Regions from separate parts of the Homo sapiens genome. Here region 2 is linked to region 1. Evidence: promoter capture Hi-C in human tissues and cell types (Jung and others, 2019). All regions are on one chromosome and are shown on one strand. The core of a region is centred on a gene start or on the middle of the fragment in contact, and the rest is flanking DNA. Distances in the headings are between cores, read along the strand shown. Region 1 holds the start of PWWP2B (PWWP domain containing 2B). Region 2 holds the start of ADAM8 (ADAM metallopeptidase domain 8).

The links. The method cuts DNA at HindIII sites, captures the fragments that hold promoters and counts their contacts. A contact is called where the count stands out against the background at its distance.
Region 2: a contact is called between the fragment with the promoter of ADAM8 here and the fragment with the promoter of PWWP2B in region 1, in 1 of the 25 tissues and cell types used here (spleen).

What each region holds. Positions count from the first base shown.
Region 1 is chr10:132,394,938-132,398,449 of GRCh38, reverse strand. PWWP2B (PWWP domain containing 2B) reads right to left here and starts at 1,250. Exons shown (of 3, transcript NM_138499.4): 1 at 1,099-1,250. The coding sequence starts at 1,223. It overlaps LOC124902526 (a long non-coding RNA gene), which reads left to right and starts at 1,894. Exons shown (of 2, transcript XR_007062342.1): 1 at 1,894-3,512. RefSeq lists enhancers at 1-192, 193-715, 2,286-2,808, 2,809-3,332 and silencers at 978-1,117, 1,128-1,237, 1,648-2,077, 2,098-2,477. The HindIII fragment of the contact is 21,746 bases long and covers 1-3,512 here.
Region 2 is chr10:133,275,535-133,279,136 of GRCh38, reverse strand. ADAM8 (ADAM metallopeptidase domain 8) reads left to right here and starts at 2,269. Exons shown (of 23, transcript NM_001109.5): 1 at 2,269-2,365; 2 at 3,550-3,602. The coding sequence starts at 2,320. TUBGCP2 (tubulin gamma complex component 2) reads left to right here. Exons shown (of 18, transcript NM_006659.4): 18 at 1-502. RefSeq lists enhancers at 245-324, 815-864, 2,179-2,826 and a silencer at 2,020-2,579. The HindIII fragment of the contact is 31,119 bases long and covers 1-3,602 here.

The DNA.
Region 1 (3,512 bases), core at 1-2,500:
ATGGTGGAGGGGATGGCAGCTCCCAGGTGGCGATTCTCACCCCCCGAGTGTCCCTCCATCCTGCCCGTGCACTCCCAGCGGTAGCCCACACGGAGCGGGCAGGAACCACACGGGAGCCATATGTTAAATCACGTGACTTGTGGATAAATGGCTTCTGGCACATCTAATGAAGAGATAACGTCTGCGAAATAATTGTGGAAGGAACACGGTCCTCTCTGCTAATTCATGTCACCAGGCAAAAATCTGGGCTCCACGGATGGAAAAAGTTGGGCCTTTACAAGAGGAGCCTTTCCCTGCTCCCAGTTTCAAAAGAAAGCCCTGCAGGAGCGCAGCGAGGCCACAGCCTGATTCATGCCTAATCATTGATCTGGCAGCGACAGCTCCCTGCCATGTGACGCGGTGTCCAGGAGGCTCATCTGCACCGCATGGGTCCCTGCAGCCCGTGCACAGGTGCCTCTCAGGAGGAACCGCCCCGCCCTGCCCTGCGCCCCCCACCCAGGAAGCCAGGGCTCCCGGGGGATGTGCCCACGGCTCCCACAGCTTGTACCTCTTCACGCCCCCATGACTCAGGGCTCCCTGGCCTGAAACTGTTCTTAAATCGCACAGCTGGGCGCAACTGCTCTCCCCGAATCCAAACCTCAGCCGCGGAGTCACTCCCAGCAGCCAGGGGCCCGTGGCCTTCGACAGGGCACCCCCACCTGTGAGGAACTGCCAGGGCAAGGCCACGGCGCATCTGACCCTCCCCTGCTTTAACGACAATTCTGCCAACAGTCGAATTCAACAGTGGCTCTGAACAAAGAAAAGTGCATTAATTATGGCAGATGTGTGGAGTTCCGGGACCCCGGCCCCGCGCCCCCCGCCCCGGCCCGCCCCGGCCCGGCGCCCGCCCCGAAAAGTCGCGACGACTTTGAGAACCACTTTTGCCCCCCCGAGTGGCGGCCGCGCTCGCGCGCCCCGAAACTCAGGCTCGGCAGAAACCGAAAGCGGGCGCCGGGGCCACGCCACCCCCAACCCGGAGGCGGGTCCCGGGTCTCCGGGCGGCGGAGGCGGGTGTCGCGTGGGGACCCCGGGGGTGTCCCGGCCCGCGCCCCCGCTCACTTTTTCGTGCAGTCCAGCAGGATCCCCGCGAAGCTCCGCTCGCCGCAGCTCACCGTGACCACCAGCGCGCCGTTGACGACCTGCTCCACCCGCACCGGCAGCCGGCAGCCGGCGCGCGGCTCCATGCTCCCGCCGCGTCCCAGGCCGCCCCCGCCCCGCCGCCGCCGCCGCCGCCGCCGCCGCCGCCGGGTCAGCCCCGCGCGTGACGCCGCCCCGCGGCCGCCTGACGTCACAAAGCTCCGCTGGGGCGGCCGCCACAGCCGAGCCGAGCCGGGCCGGGGGCGCGCGGCCGCGGGCTCCGCTCCCGGGGACCCCGCCCGCCGCCGCCGCGTCCCGGGAGAAGCCGCGCCCGCCCGCAGAGGTCGGCCGGACGCGCGGTGCGGACCCCCGGGCTGGAGAGGGGGCTGCGCCCGGGCTCGCGGCCCACGCTGGCCGGGAGTGTCCCCTGGCTCGGGAGGACCCGAGAGCCACGAGCCCGGGGGCGGCGGGGGGGACACCCGCCGCGGCCGGAGCCCCGGGACCCCATCCCCCCGCTCCCCTGCCTGGGGCCGGTCCCGGGCCCCCCTCCCCCTCCGGGCCCAGCCCTGCGCCCTCCCTCCCTCCCCGGTGGCCCGGATCCTCCCGCCTGGGGTCGGCCGCCCGCGTGTCCCGGCAGCGCCCCGCGCTGGGCTCTGGTGGCCCCGGGCACTGCGGCGAGGAAGTCCCGGGCGGCGCGCGCAGGAAGCCGGGGCAGGCGGAGGGGACGCGGGGCGCCCGGGGGCAGCGGCCTAGTGTCGCCCTCGCCGCGTGGGGGGCGGGACACTGGGTCGCCCCACTGGGCTCGGCGCCTCTCGGGGCGACAAGCGGGCGCGCGCCCGGCTCAGGGCCACCCTGCGCGCCTGGGGGTGGCCGGCACCGGGGCCCGGGGGGTTAACTCCCTCCGGAGGTCTCGGGCGTGTCTCTTCGGGTTGCCGGGCCCAGGGGCCAGGCGCGCCTCCGCCAGTTTACAAAGGAAACAGCCTCCTTCCCCCGCGGCAGGGGCTCCCCGACCCGCGGGCGAGGAGTGGGAGGTGACGGCGCCGGACCCCCTTCCCCCAGGCGCCCGGCTCCCGCGCCTTCAGGCGTCAAAGCCCCCGACTTCCCCGAGCACCAGCACGTCCGCACCCGGCTCAGAACGCAGGGGCCCGGCCTGCTGCGGTGACCTTGGCCCCGGGCCGGGCTTCTGAGCCGGACTTGCAGCGCCTGACGAGGCCTGGAGGCGGGGCGGGGGACCGCGTAGTTGTCCTGGCGACCCAGCGCCGCCGGGCAGGGCTCCTCCCAGCCTGGGAATTGAGGACCACCGCCCCTGGTGCCACTGGGGACCGTCGGGTCGCTGGCGCCTGTCGACCTCGCCCTCCGGCGGCCGCGCGGCAGTGGGAGCCTCAGAGAGGAGCCAGGGCGGAGTGAGGGAGCCCGCGGGGCCTGGGACACCTGACCGTCCGGCTAGAACAGGGGTAGGGACCGAGGCCGAATGAGCCAGAGTTCTGGCCGGGGACAGTCCCAGAGGAGGCCTGGAAGCCCAGTGAGTGTCTGTCCTCCTCTGTGTGGCCTGGGGCTCCCGCCAACACTAAGCCCTTCCTGGGGCCTCAGGCACCTCAAGGCGCCCCGTTCTCCAGGGTCAGCCAGCCCCTGCCCACTGGTTGCCAGGCTTGCAGTGGAGCCTGCCTGCTGTCCTGCCCACAGGCCTCTGCAGCTGCCCCCTCCAGGGGTGGGGCTGACTTTGGAGGAAAAATGCCAGGCAGCAGGGACCCCCTCGCCACCCTGCTCCAGGTTGGGCTGAGCGGCCATCCTGAGGCTGCCCACTTGCTTGGCTCTTCTTCCTGCCTGCTGGAGAGGCCTGCTGGGCACTGCCCTTTCTGAGCATTGGGGACTGCCAGGGTGAATCAGCATTCAGGCTGGTGGGGCCAGCATGGGGTGGGGCTAATGCACAGGGGGCTGTATGTGGGTGGAGGGATCCAGAAAGAGTGTCCAGGGGAGCACCAGCATTCACCAGGGCCCCACCAGGTGGGCAAAAGCAAGGGCTTCCGAGGTGGGGGTGGGGGTGGGCAGGATCCTCTGCAAGGTGTCTGCGTGCGCCTGGGGCTCCTGGTGACTTCCCACGCCAGCAGGAGGAACAGTTTGGGGTGTGCTGAGGGACCCACCTGTGGACTTGCTGGGCTTTGAGAGGAACCAAGGCTGGGTGGCGGCGGGCAGGACAGGGGAAGAGGGTTCCGGGGCACAGAGGGCCAGACAGATGCACCCAGCAGCTGGCAGCTCTGGCTGGAGAGGGGAAGAGGGCAGTGAGAAGCACGGCTGGCCCATGGTACCTCCTGCCCCTCTGCCCTGCCCGCCTTCCCTCTGCCCTGCCCACCTTCCCTCTGCCCTGCCCGCCTTCCCTCTGCCTCTTCCCCTCTGGC
Region 2 (3,602 bases), core at 1,020-3,519, 880 kb before region 1:
TGGCTGGAAACCCCACCCCGCCCTATCCGGTACCGCCTTGTTACGTAGAACTTACTCAGCAGACTGACACCCAATCCCCCTCGGGCGATCATCTGCCCTGTCTTCCCACCTCCAGGGCTACAGTGGGCAGCACCGCCATCCCCAGTGTGACAGGGCCCTGGGAGCCTCAGGGCTGCCCGGCCAGGTTGGTCTGCTCTGGTTACATTCTGGCCAAGCTGCCCCTTCCTGCTGACCTGCATGTGTATTGTTGTCACCTTCAGCTCTCAGCACCTCGGCCCCCTTGGGCAGTGAGGAAGGGCCCTGGAGGCGAGGTTGGGAGAAAGGATAGCTAGAACAGGATCCTGCGGGGAACAAGGGTTGTGGGCAGCTCTCACCCGGGGCTGCCTCACTGAGAGCACCGCCGAGTGGGGGTGGGGGTGTCCAACTCTCCAGCCACAAACCGCTTCCTCCTTGTCTGCAGGCTGTGCAGGTCTGGCCTGTGAGTAAACACATTTATCAGCAACCCAAGCTGTCAGTCTCAGTGTTGTGCAAATGCCGGACTGGTGAGCAGAGGAGCCTGCTAGCTTTCCTGCCTGGCCCCGAGGCCCAGAAACCCCTGATCTTGTGTCCTGGGGTCTGGGAAGCCCTGGGCCTTGAGAAGTGGGGTTTGCAGGTGGTGATAGGAGGAGGGGAGGGAAGCCTCCAGGGCTGTGGGGTTCAGGCTCCCAGACCCCCCGGCACCTGCTGAAGAGGAGAGCTGTGTTCTGTGGGATTGGGTGGAACTTCCTCAGCGCGGGAGGAGCCTGTTCTGGCCCAAGCTGGTCCTGTCTTTTTAGGAATAAATCCCTGGTAGCTCAGCGTCGGCAGGGGCCTTGCTGTGCCTCTGATGTGGCCAGCGTGCCGCCTTTGCACTTTGCTGTTGAGTAACTTGCACCATGAGGTCAAGGAAGGGAAGTGTGATTGCCAGCTGGCCATTGTTCTATAATAACAGGGTCACCTGCATGAGCTCAGGCACAGGCCAGTATCCCCAGCCCTACCTGGGAGCCTCTCGGCAGCCTGGGGGACCTCGTCCTGTGCCACACAGGCAAGCGGACACACCCCCAGGCAGCAGAAGTCACCTGCGGCCCAGTGCCAGCCCTTGCTTTCTTGCTTTTCATGCCATTCACATTAGGGTAAGAATGGCTTTGAGACAAAATGTGACAGCATCACTCACGCCAGCTTAGATCCTCCGGGTTCCCTGTCCTCCCAGGATAACGTCCGAGGCCCCGGCCTCTTCTTGCCACTGCCCCTTGACCTCTGTCCTCTGCCCCTAGGCCCGTGCAGTTCCCTGACTCGCCCTGCCCTGGTGCCCTCTCTCCAGGCAGGACTCCCTCCAGCCCCTTGCTGGCCCTGCCCTGCCTCTCCCCAGGGAGGCCCTGAGGCCCCCCCCCCCCATGTGATCTGTCAGCAGCGCCCTGTGTGGTCATCTGAGCTGCCTTTCCTGCCACCACCACTGTTCCCACTCCAGGAGGGCGGCCTGGCTGTGAAAGCCCCAGGGAGGGGTCCTGGGTGGACCGTCTGGGGAGCTGTGGTGTCAGCCCAAACCTGCACCCTCGAGGCTGAGCCCACCACGGGGAATGTGGTCACCAAGGGCAAGCACGCTTGGCCGCAGGCCTGGAGACGCCGGAGCCAGGCCACGGTGGGCTGCTGCAGGCTTTGGTCCACGTCGGCCAGCGTCAGCTGCTGTCTGGGGATCTTAGGCTAGGGACGGCCCCTGCACCTGCCATCACCTGGGCTGGGACCCCCACCTAGGGCTCCCCCTCCCCACTTGGACGCCTGCGGGCCCATGCCTATCCCACTCCGGTGAGGCCTCAGCCTGGTGGAGGGGGCGCAGGCTTGGGGGGGAGGGTGGCAGAGCTTCCCACAGGGCTGAACCTATGCCCACAAAGCCATGACTTGCCCCTGCCTGAGGCTTTCTGTTCCCCAGGAAATCAGAGACCCCCTCTCCTGAAACCGCCAGGCGGCCCTCACAAGTCCCTTCCCCTCCAGGACCTGCCTGGCGCCACCTCCTTCCAGCCGCCGGGTCCTTCGAGAGGCCCCCTCTCGGGGCTCTGGCCGGACTTGGGACAGGCTGTGCCTGAGTTTCCTCACCTGTGCAAGGGAGGATGCTGGATTGTGGGGAGAGGGGAAACGGACCCCGCCCCCAGGTGCCGCGCGCCCCGCCCCTCCCACCGGCCGAGGGGCCCATTGGCTGCGGGGCGCCGGGGCGGGGCGCGCGGAAAAGAGCCTCGGGCCAGGAGCGCAGGAACCAGACCGTGTCCCGCGGGGCTGTCACCTCCGCCTCTGCTCCCCGACCCGGCCATGCGCGGCCTCGGGCTCTGGCTGCTGGGCGCGATGATGCTGCCTGGTGAGTGGTTCCAGGGAACCGTCCCGGGCGCAGCGCGGGGCAGGGTGGCTCTCCCCGCAGGACGCGACGCGGACCCCGAGCCCCTGGCCTGCTCGCACCCCGCACCCTGGCCCGGCTTCGGGCTGGTCCCTGGGAGCGGGCCATCAGGTGCACAGTGGTCTCTGGGTGGAGAGCCCCGGGCCGGGGAGGCCGGGGAGGTCGGAGGGAACCTTCAAAGGTGAACTGTGAGAGGGAAGTCCCGCCTCTGAGCTTGTTAGTGGGGTCGGGGCCGGGCCAAGCAGGACGCTTCACCTGCTGCGCGAGGCGCCCTGGGTTCCTGGGATTCACCTGTGGGGCTACCCACCCCCACTATTTAGCCGAGGAGGGAAGGGAGGGCAGACAAGCTGAGGCCTGGAGTGCAGGGGTGTGGGCTGAGGGGACCCGTCTCCTGCCTGGGGGAGGACATGGGGCTGCTGACCCTGGATCCCACCCCTGCTCCTGGAGTGACTTGGGCTGGGGTGTGCTGAGGAGCTTCAGGCTGGAGGCCGGGTTGCTTCCCGCCAGTTTCCTGGGCAGATAGGGGCTGGCTGCTCCCCTGCTGCCTCTCCAGGTTGGAGATGTGGTCATGGAGACACGTCCACTATTGTGTTTTAATGGGAGCAAAGGGTCCTGGGGTTGGTGGTCTCCGAAACCCTGCCCATTGCATGCTGGGACCCTGCCCTCTGCTCTCGGATACCAGGGAGTTTCCAGTTCTTGGGAGGTGAACAGCCTCCGGGAGGCACTTCCTGCTCCCCAGTTAGATGCGATCAGATGATCAGAAGAATGGAGGAGGAGAATGGAAACGGGCAGGTCGGCGGCCCGAGTCCTCCTCCCTGGGGGGAAGGTTCATCCTTGCCCTCGGGCCCCTCCAGAGATCTGAGACAGCCTGGAGACCTGTGGAGTCACTGGCACCCGCTGGCACCCACAGCGTCTCTGAGCACTGTGTGTGGGTGCTGCAGGACACAGGCCCACCGGCCATGCCTGGGGGCGCTCCTGGGGTCTTTTAGGCACAGAACCCTCACTTGAGTCTTTGTCCCAGAGCTATCTGGTGAGTTCCCCAGGGGAGGGTCAAGCCCAGCAAGAGACAGAATCTGAGGGCCCAGGAGGCCTCTGGGAAGGAAACCTGCCCCCCGGCCCCTCATGCCTGCTGACCCTCCCTCCTGCAGCGATTGCCCCCAGCCGGCCCTGGGCCCTCATGGAGCAGTATGAGGTCGTGTTG